3 separate regions of the Homo sapiens genome follow, and all the other regions are linked to region 2. Evidence: promoter capture Hi-C in 16 types of primary human blood cells and fetal thymus (Javierre and others, 2016). All regions are on one chromosome and are shown on one strand. Each heading gives the region's core, a stretch centred on a gene start or on the middle of the fragment in contact. The rest is flanking DNA. Distances are from core to core; before and after follow the strand shown.

Evidence for each region. The method cuts DNA at HindIII sites, captures the fragments that hold promoters and counts their contacts. A CHiCAGO score of 5 or more calls a contact.
Region 1: a fragment that was not itself captured here is called in contact with the fragment with the promoter of CD244 in region 2 in 1 of 17 cell types (non-activated CD4 T cells); the score reaches 5.5 in non-activated CD4 T cells.
Region 3: a contact is called between the fragment with the promoter of ATP1A4 here and the fragment with the promoter of CD244 in region 2, in 2 of 17 cell types (total B cells and activated CD4 T cells). The highest score is 10.6, in total B cells.

The regions. Positions count from the first base shown.
Region 1 is chr1:160,316,814-160,320,183 of GRCh38, forward strand. All of the region lies in intron 8 of COPA (coat protein complex I subunit alpha), which reads right to left. It also overlaps the pseudogene SUMO1P3. Among named protein-coding and RNA genes, the nearest start is that of COPA, 25 kb to the right of the region's middle. The HindIII fragment of the contact is 2,829 bases long and covers 1-2,827 here.
Region 2 is chr1:160,861,259-160,864,869 of GRCh38, forward strand. It overlaps CD244 (CD244 molecule), which reads right to left and starts at 1,629. Exons shown (of 9, transcript NM_016382.4): 1 at 1,359-1,629. The coding sequence starts at 1,419. RefSeq lists an enhancer at 1,445-1,494. The HindIII fragment of the contact is 2,100 bases long and covers 1-1,656 here.
Region 3 is chr1:160,150,150-160,153,738 of GRCh38, forward strand. It overlaps ATP1A4 (ATPase Na+/K+ transporting subunit alpha 4), which reads left to right and starts at 1,454. Exons shown (of 22, transcript NM_144699.4): 1 at 1,454-2,038; 2 at 3,016-3,075. The coding sequence starts at 1,892. The HindIII fragment of the contact is 4,407 bases long and covers 1-3,589 here.

The sequences.
Region 1 (3,370 bases), core at 163-2,662, 540 kb before region 2:
CTTATTCAAAGAAATAATTACAGAAAATTTTCCAAAACTTGAGGAAGAAATATCCAGGTACAGGAAGGCCTGAGAACACCAAACAGGTCCAACCCAAGTAAGACTACCCTAAGGCATATAAAAGTCAAACTCTCAAAAGTCAAGGACAAAGAAAGGATCCTAAAATACACAACAGAAAAGAAGCAAAGAACACACAAAGGAGCTCCAATTTGTCTGGCAATAGATGTTTCAATGCAAACCATACAGGCCAAGAGAGAGAGGAATGACATTTTCCAAGTGCTCAAAGAAAAAACCTGACATCTAAGAATACTGTACCCAGCAAGATTATTTTATTTTCCAAATATGAAGGATAGTATTTCCCATACAAACAAAAGGTGAGAATTTACCACCACCAGATCCATCTTACAGTAAGTGTTAAAAGTAGTTCTTCGATCTGAAAGAAAAAAACACTAATGTGGTAGCGGAAGTTACTGCAGCTGCGGTGTTGTGCTGTGGGGAAGGGAGAAGGATTTGTAAACCCCGGAGTGAGGTTCTGCTTACCCGAGGCCGCTGCTGTGCGGAGACCCCCGGGTGAAGCCACTGTCATCATGTCTGACCAGGAGGCAAAACCTTCAACTGAGGACTTGGGGGATAAGAAGGAAGGTGAATATATTAAACTCAAAGTCATTGGACAGGATAGCAGTGAGATTCACTTCAAAGTGAAAATGACAACACATCTCAAGAAACTCAAAGAATCATACTGTCAAAGACAGGGCGTTCCAATGAATTCATTCAGGTTTCTCTTTGAGGGTCAGAGAATTGCTGATAATCATACTCCAAAAGAACTGGGAATGGAGGAAGAAGATGTGATTGAAGTTTATCAGGAACAAATGGGGGGTCATTCAACAGTTTAGATATTCTTTTTATTTTTTTTCTTTTCCCTCAATCCTTTCTCATTTTTAAAAATAGTTCTTTTGTAATGTGGTGTTAAAAACGGAATTGAAAACTGGCACCCCATCTCTTTGAAACATCTGGTAATCTGAATTCTAGTGCTCATTATTCATTATTGTTTATTTTCATTGTGCTGATTTTTGGTGATCAAGCCTCAGTCCCCTTCATATTACCCTCTCCTTTTTAAAAATTACGTGTGCACAGAGAGCCCACCTTTTTCAGGACATTGCATTTTCAGGCTTGTGGTGATAAATAAGATTGACCAATGCAAGCGTTCATAATAACTTGCGAATTGGCCCTGATGTTCTAGCATGTGATTACTTCACTCCTGGACTGTGACTTTCAGTGGGAGATGGAAGTGTTTCAGAGAACTGAAACTGTGGAAAAATGACCTTTCCTTAACTTCAAGCTACTCTTAAATTTGAGGGTCTGGACCAAAAGAAGAGGAATATCGGGTTGAAGTCAAGATAACTGATAAGGAGAGAGTAATGACTAACTCCAAAGATGGCTTCATTGAAGAAAAGGCATTTTAAGATTTTTTAAAAATCTTGTCAGAAGATCCCAGAAAAGTTCTAATTTTCATTAGCAATTAATAAAGCTATACATGCAGAAATGAATACAACAGAACACTGCTCTTTTTGATTTTATTTGTACTTTTTGGCCTGGGATATGGGTTTTAAATGGACATTGTCTGTACCAGCTTCATTAAAATAAACAATATTTGTAAAAAAAAAAAAAAAAAAAAAAACAAAAAAAAAAAAAAAACACTAATGTGCAAAAAGAAAACTTTTCAAGATATAAAACCCAAGATGTAAAATTAAGTTCATAGACAAACCCAGAAGACTATATTACTATAATGGTGGTACACAATCCACTTATAACTTTACTATGAAGCCCAAAAGACAAATATATCAAAAGCAATAATAGCTATAGCAACATGTTAAAGAGATAGTCAAAAAGGCAGGAACAGAAATGGAGTTAAATGTATAATTTCTGAGTGTGTTTTAGCCTTTGTTTTTGTTCTTGTGTTTGTGATATAAAATAAGCTGTCATCTCTTTAAAATACCTTATTCTATCTATAAGATTTTTTTTTGTGAATCTCATGGTAATTACAGCACAAAAACTATTAATATATACTCACTAAAAATAAAAAGCATCAAATTAAGACATATTACCAAAGAAAATCACTTAACCACAAAAGAAGACAGTAAGAAAAGGAAGAGAGAAGCCTCAAAAAAAAACAAAACAAAACCAGAAAACAAGCAAAAAACAGCAGTAATAAGTCCTTGCTTATCAATAATATCACTGAATGTAAATGCTCTCAATTCTTCAATTAAAAGGCATAGAGTGGCTAAACGGATAAAGAGAGAAGACCTAACTATATGCTGCCCTCAAGAAACCCATTTACCTATACAGACACACATAGACTGAAAACGAAGGAGTGGGAGATATTCCATGAAACTGGAAACCAGAAAAGAGCAGGCGTAGCTATACTTACATGAGATAAAACAGACTACCAAACCTAAGATTGTAAAAAGAGACAAAGAAGGTCACTATATAATGATAAAGGGGTCAATTCAGCAAGAGGAAATAACAATTATAAGTATCTGTGCACCCAACACCAAAGCTCCCAAGTATATAAAGCAAACACTAATAGATCCAAAAGGAGAGGTAGACTACAATATGATAATAGTAGGAGAGCTAATACCCCACTCTCAAAAACAGACAGATCATCCATACAGTAAATCAACAAAGAAACAGTGGAGTTAAACTACATACTAGATCTAATAGGCCTAACTGCAATTTACAGAACATTTCACCCAACGGCTACAGAATATTCTTTTCATCAGCACATGGAACACTCTCCAGAATAAACTATACTTTAGGCCACAAAACAAGCTTGAAAAAATTGTAAAAAATAGAAATTATATTAAGTATCTTTTCTGAACACAATAGAACTAGAAATCAATAACAAGAGGAACCTCAGAAAATACAAACACATGTAAGTTAAACAACATGTTCCTGAAAGACTAATGGATCAATGAAGAAATTAAGAAGGAAATTTAAAAATTGCTTGAAACGAATGAAAATGGCAATACAATGTAACAAAATTTATGGGATATGACAAAAGCAGTACTAAGAATGAAGTTTATAACATAAACACCTATGTCAAAAAAAAAAAAAAAAAAAGGAAAGACTCCAAATGAACAATCTAATGATACACCTCAAGGACCTAGATAATAAAAAACAAGCCAAACCCTAAATTAGTAGAAGAAAACAAACAATAAAGATCAGAGCAGAAATAAAATTGAGACTAAAAAAAATACAGACTATCAATGAAACGAAACACTTGCTTTTTGAAAAGATAGTATCAACAAACTGTTAGCTAGACCAACTAAGGAAAAAGGAGAGAAGATCCAAATAAATAAAATCAGAAATG
Region 2 (3,611 bases), core at 379-2,878:
TTCCTCATCATGCTCTGCCCTAGGCTGCCTGCATCCTTACAAATGTTGAGTCCACCTGAGCCTTGACTGTGTCTTCCTGAAGGACACAAGAATGCTCAGGGACTCGGTAACTGAATTGAGTACCTGGGCATGGGACTTTATTGCATATGGGGCTTCTACCTGGCCCTGAACCCACACAACACTATGCCTCAGTTTCCCCTCTTTGTGCCCAGAGTGTACCCTCCTCTAATTCCACGCTCTCCACCTCCGTGAAGCCCCTGCAGAGTCACTGATCTAAAATGCAGAACCCTGGCTGGGCATGGTGGCTCACACCTGTAATCCCAGCACTTTGGATGGGGGAGACCAAGGTGGGCAGATCACCTGAGGTCAGGAGTTCAAGACCAGCCTGGCCAACATGGTGAAACCTGGTCTCTACTAAAAATACAAAAATTAGCCAAGCATGGTGGCGCACGTCTGTAATTTCACCTACTCGGGAGGCTGAGGCATGAGAATCACTTGAACCCGGGAGGCAGAGTTTGTAGTGAGCCAAGATCACGCCACTGCACTCCAGCCTGGGTGACAGAAGGAGACTCTGTCTCAAAAAATAAATAAATAAATAAAAATTAAAAATGAAATAAATAAATTAATTCAATTAAATTAAATGCGGGATCCAGGTTTCAGAGCATCCTGGACCCCAGAACTGGAGAAAGAGGGGAGCAGCCCTCAGCTGGGATCCCCAGGAGTAAATGTTAGATGGCTCCATGCCTGGCTGACAGCTTTAGGTTTGCTGTGGAGCTTCCTCATATTGTCTCCTTCTTCTGCCCCAACCCTGCATGTCCCTAATAATTTCCAGGCTCCTGTGGCATCTGGATGGCTGAAGAAGCCGGGGAGATGAGGGACCATGCCTTCCAGCTTCTTCCTGGCTGCTGGCCTCGCCCTCCCCTCCCTGGGCTCAGCTTTCCTGCCTCAGGGGTCCATCCATCTGTCTCTGAGCTCGAGAACCACCCACTTCCTTGGGACTGCTTCTCTTCTCTCATGCCACAATTGGAGGATGCAATTTTCATCATCTTTACAGGCGGCTGGAAGGAGGCTTCTCTCTCCACTACACGGAAGGGTAAATTGAAGCCAGTGGGAAGGAATCTCCTCACCCAAGACTTCCTGGATTGCTGGTGGCAGGGCCAGATACCCCTCTCACAGACCTCCCAGTGCACTGCCAGCCTGTCCTGTCTGATTTAGACTGTCAGAGCTGTCAGGAGCTGCTCGGAGTCAAGTTCCAGATGACTGTGTATGTGGCACAAGCAGAGGCTCTGGCTCTGATCTCCCTGAGGGGCACAGCTCCTAGTCCCTCCCTCGCCCCACGCCAGGTAGGACCTCCTTACCTTTGCCCTGATACACCTTGAGGAGCAGGAGGAGTATGAGGGTGACCACTTGCCCCAGCATTTCCACAGGACAGAGGGGCCAGGCCAGCCCCTCCACCCCACCAGACTCTCTGCCGTGCACGGGCTCAGCAGTCCCCAGTCAGCAAGAGGACGATGGGGAGCAGAACTGCCTTGCAACCTGTCCAGCCACAGTTTCCTCAATTAGAGGCTGTTAACGCCTGCTGTGAGCTGACAAGGCCACTGAGAAAGCCCCAGCGCCTGGAGCTGGTCTGACAGTTCCCACAAGCCAAACTGGTGAAGCTTACCTCAAGTGGGAGGGTGCTTGAAGTTCACAGTGACTCACAAAGCCAGTTTCAAAATTGCATCCCGTTCTCTGCTTCAGCCCAAGAAGTCTTCCAATTCTCTGAATCCTATATGGAGAGACCCCCATGGGGGCCAAACAGCCAGTATCCCCAACTGTTCCATTCCAACAGACATTGTGGAGGTGGAGTGGAGAGGGGCTGGAGGAGGAGTGGGCTGAAACGTAGGGCCCTGGATAAGCGGCTAACAGTGTTGAAGGAAAGGAGGAGTAGCTGAGAGAACATAGGAAGAGACCTAAGGGCTGGAGGCACTAGAAAAATCTAGCAAGCCTGGGGATTCCATGCAAGTTGACACCAAAGTTTAAGCACATGTAAATTAAATTTGTTTCATAAGAATTTGTTTCACACGGGGCACAGTGGCTCACGCCTGTAATCCCAACACTTTGGGAGACTGAAGCAGGCAGATCACTTGAGATCAGGAGATCGAGACTAGCCTGGCCAATATGGTGAATCCCCACCTCTACTAAAAATAGAGAAATTAGCCAGGCTGGGTGGCGTGCACCTGTAATCCAAGCTACTTGGGAGGCTGAGGCAGGGGAATCACTTGAGCAAAGGAGGTGGAGGTTGCGGTAAGCCAAGATCACGCCACTGCACTCCAGCCTAGGTGACAGAGCGACACTGTGTCTCAAAAAAAAAAAAAAAAATTTTGTTTTGCTCCACATTTCCGATCTGTATGCCTAGATTCCCTCCCTTCCTCTTTTTCTACTTTTCTATAGTAGTCCTCTCTTCCCTCTTTTGTCTTCTCCCAGAAGTGACATGGGCCTATTTTTGCTGCCTTCCCATCCATGCTTGGACGCCACCCTCCAGGAAGGCCAGGCAGCTCTGGATCTGCTTAGGCCCCCATGGAGGGGTGGGGACAGCGGCATCCCCCCTCCCCTGGAACACTGTGCTTCAAGGCCAGGCCCCAGGGTTCATGCCTCTTTCTTTCTTCCTTCTGCTTTCCCCTTAACAAATACTTTCAGTTCCCTTCAAGTCCGCTCTTATTCTCTTTTTCCATCCTTTGGTCCATTTCCAGCCACCCTGTCTGAACTGGGCAGGGGGCAGCAGACTGACAGCTTCAGCTGCCAACAGAGGCAGCAGCGGGGCTCTGGACAGAGCGCTGGATTTAGAGTCAAAGACTTGGACTTGCAGCTCCCATTCAGCAACTTACAACCTATGTGATTCTGGCCTTGTTGCTGTCTGAGCCTGTAGGGTCAACAATACATCCTCCCCACCTTCACAAGGCAGTTTTCAGGATCAAATTAAAAATGATACTCCAGAATATGCACACAAAAAACACTGGACATAGATGAGGTTTTTGTGGTTTTGTTTTCATTTTTTTAAGCTCTGAATAGCTTTTTCCAGCGGGTCTAATGGTTATCATCTCTTCTCTCCTTTGTCTGCTCCCAAGGGGCAGCCCTCAACCCTGGGGAATTTCTTCAGAGTTGATCTGGCCATGTCCTTAACCTTGAGAAGTGGTGCACAAGACATGATATAACAAAGAAGGGTAAACTTCCTCACACGACAGGTGGAAAACAAGATCCAGCTGTTGGAACCCACTAATGAATGTGAATTAGGAATCAGCCTCTCCAATCCTGACCCCAACACCAGCTCCATCCTTCCCACCAGGCATGTGGATGACCTATCATCCCCTGGAAACAGAACTCGGAGCAGCTGTACCACTGAGTGTGTGTCTGTCTTGTGGTCCCTGACAAACTCTATCACACAATATCTGCTATTTGTAGGCTGATCGCAGTGGCTCATGCCTATAATCCCAGCACTTTGGGAGGCCAAGGCAGGTGGATCACTTGAGGTCAGGGGTTCGATATCAGCCTGGCCAACACGGTGAAACCTCATCTCTACTAAAAATACAAAAATTAGCCGGGTGTGGTGGTGTGTGCCTGTAATCCCAGCT
Region 3 (3,589 bases), core at 204-2,703, 710 kb before region 2:
GGTCCCAGCTACTTGGGAGGCTGAGGTGGGAGGATCACTTGGACCTGGGAGGTTGAGGCTGGAGTAAGCCATAATCGCACCATTACACTCCAGCCTGGGCAACAAAGTGAGATCCTGTCTCAAAAAGTAAATAAACAAATATCAAACAACAGAATGGGAAAATCTATGTGACGTGCATAATTGAAAAATATATATAATGGTTGACAGAAAAGTATAGATGCTTCAGATTATTCTTGGAAGGAGGTAGAATCCTATGGACATGCAAAACATATATACAGTTAATATAGTCAAAGCACTTACTGAGACACCAGAGAAGGTCAATGGAAGAGGTAAGTACATCATTTTAAAATGAGAAAATGCAACGCTATCACATGGAAAAGCATATTTTTACCCTCACTGAGAAGAGCTGCATATTAATCCACAAATAAAACTACTACTGAATTCAAGCTACCTATTGAGCACATACTATATATGTCACATAGTGCTTTTTGTAGAGCACCTCACTTAAGGTAGAAGGTATCCTCTTTTAAAAATAAGAAAAGAGAGGTACAGAGGTTAGGTAACTTGCTCAAAGCCACACAGCTGACAAGTGGAGGAGTTGGGATTGAAATCCAGGACTGGTTCCAGAGCCCAAGATCTGATCTATTCTGCTAGCTGATCTCCTAAAATTAAAAGATCAAACCCAATGTTAGTGGAAAAGTGTGCCTTGCTAAAAAACACACACAGAGTACCTGCTTTTTTTTTTTTTTTGAGATGGAGTCTCAAAAACAGACGGGAGAATATTAGTCCAAACTGCAACTGCACCATTTTGTAAGCTCCCTGCTATGGTTTTTTGTTTGTTTGTTTGTTTGTTTGTTTGTTTGTTTGTTTGTCTGAGATGGAGTCACTCTGTCACCGAGGCTGGAGTGCAGTGATGCAATCTCAATTCACTGCAACCTCTGCCTTCTGGATTCAGATGTTTCTCCTGCCTCAGCCTCCCGAGCAGCTGGGATTACAGGTGCCCACCACCACACCTGGCTAAATTTTGTATTTTTAGTAGAGATGGGGTTTCACCATACTGGCCACGAAGGTCTCGATCTCAGCCTCCCAAAGTGCTGGGATTACAGGCATGAGCCACCGCGCCCGGCCGAATACCCGCTTTATTTTTGAGTCATCTATTTGGCATACCTCTAAGCCTCCAAAGTCTGCAGGACCACACAAGAACTTTGTTCTAGTTCTGCCCTCAGACTGAAACTCTTTCTGTAGCAGGGCCTGCTCCAATCGTCCTCAAACCCAAAGACTGAGACTTCTAGGTTCTTGGTTAAAACCTTCATGAGGCCTTTGCGACAGCAGACCTGGACCATCGCCAAGGCAAGACTTCTGGATTCTTGGTTAGAACTTTCAGGAGGCCTTTGTGATGCCAGACCTGGGTCATTGCCCCAGCAACCACAGGGCCTGGGACTGGGGGGTTCCCAGATCCTTGAAGCTCACTCCGCCTCCTCACTCTCACTGCATTTCCCACCTTCCTGTGGGCCTTGCGGCATCTTCATCACTGAGGCACCTGGTTACGCTTCACCTCTTGTTTCCTGCCCTCACTGCATTCCCTCACCTCTACCTTTTTATCCTTCCACCCTAGGCTTCTCTCCTCCCTCTTCCCTCACTCCTGACTCTTCCTCTTCCCAGCGGACGGCTGGAGGACCGCTCAGTCTCTCCTCTCTCACTTCCCTTCCTCTCTCTCACCTTCACCACCCAACACCTCCCTCCCTGCCTCTTTCTTTCTGCTCCCTCATTCTCTCCCCACCACTCTCTTCTCGTGGCCCCCTTGCCCGCGCGCCCTCTTCCCTTCCCCTTGCCTCACTCTCTCAGCTTTCTTCCCACAGTTGAGCTCGGGCAGCTCTTTCTGGGGATAGCTATGGGGCTTTGGGGGAAGAAAGGGACAGTGGCTCCCCATGACCAGAGTCCAAGACGAAGACCTAAAAAAGGGCTTATCAAGAAAAAAATGGTGAAGAGGGAAAAACAGAAGCGCAATATGGAGGAACTGAAGAAGGAAGTGGTCATGGTGAGGCCACCCAAAGTGGGCGCTGACAGCTGCCCTCTGAAAACACTCCTCCACCTATCTTTAACATCTTACCTTGAGAATGAAACACACAGGCCAGAGCCACATCTCTTCTCTGTTAGGCTTTGGAGGGAAGGAGAGGGTTAAAAAAAAAAAAAAAGATACACACAGAGAGACAGGGCAGCTCAACAGCAAGCACAGGTATATTGCAGACACCTGTGGAAGTGGGGGATCAGCTTAATTCCACAGTCCACTGCCACTTACAGGCTGGGTACTTATAGGGATGGATGGGAGGAGTCTGGGCTGTATGGCCTGCTGCCTGGCAGGATATCGATAAGATGTTCTCATGATGAGGTGATTTTTGGCCCTTGTTTCCACAGAATATAATCATGGTATTCCCTGGACCTTTGCCCAGCAGGATGTGATAGGGATGTTTCTTTAGTGGGGTCTTTGTCTTTAATTGGGCCTTCGTCTGCCCTGTGGTCAGGTGGTTAGGCAGGCTGTTTCTCTGGCCCGAACCCCCGTGAAATGTTTCACTTTGACCAAGGCCTGTAAAATAGTGGGGAGCTAGGCCGGGCGTGGTGGCTCACACCTGTAATCCCAGCACTTTGGGAGGCTGAGGCAGGCAGATCACCTGAGGTCAGGAGTTTGAGACAAGCCTGGCCAACATGGTGAAACCCCGCCTCTAAAAATACAAAAATTAGCTGGTCCTGGTGATGGGCCCCTGTAATCCCAGCTGCTTGGGAGGCTGAGGCAGGAGAAACACCTGTTGGGAGGCAGAGGTTGCAGTGAGTCGAAATCGCACCACTGTACACCAGCCTGGGCAACAGAGTGACTCCATCTCAAAAAAAGAATTGCAGGGAGCTTACAAAATGGAGCAGTCTCAGTTTGGACTAACATTCTCCAGTCTGTTTCTCCCCCTCTCCCTGGAAATGACCTGGGCCACCCCCTGTCCCTCAATGCCTCTACTGTCCCCTCAGGATGATCACAAATTAACCTTGGAAGAGCTGAGCACCAAGTACTCCGTGGACCTGACAAAGGTGAGTAAGAAGCTCCCTGAGGAGGCAGAGAGTCTCCAACTCTGACTGTGAGGCTGCCAGGACAAAAGCTGAACTAGGAATCCAGCCCCCTAACTTCAAGTCCAACGTTCCCACCCCTCACCCTCTGCCTGGCCACGTTCCATGGACACTACCTGGAAAAAGCTGCAAATGGTAACTACCCTCAAAGAGAGTGTGGGACTAGATAAGAGAATAAGAATGCTTTAGGGCAGTGCTGGTCAAACGTCTTGTCCTTAGGTCTCCTTTACACTCTTAGAATTTATCTAGGACCGCAAAGAACTTGTGCTTATGTGGCTTAAGTCTGTCTATATTTACCATATTAGAAATTAAAATTGAGAGTTTTAAAATGTATTTCTCAATTCATTTAAAAATAACAAAAATAAAGTTATCATATATTCATATATGTTTTGACAAATAACTGTATTTTTCAAAACAAAAAAATTAGCAGCATCTTACATTTTTGCAAACCTCTTCAATGTCTTGCTTTTTAATAGAA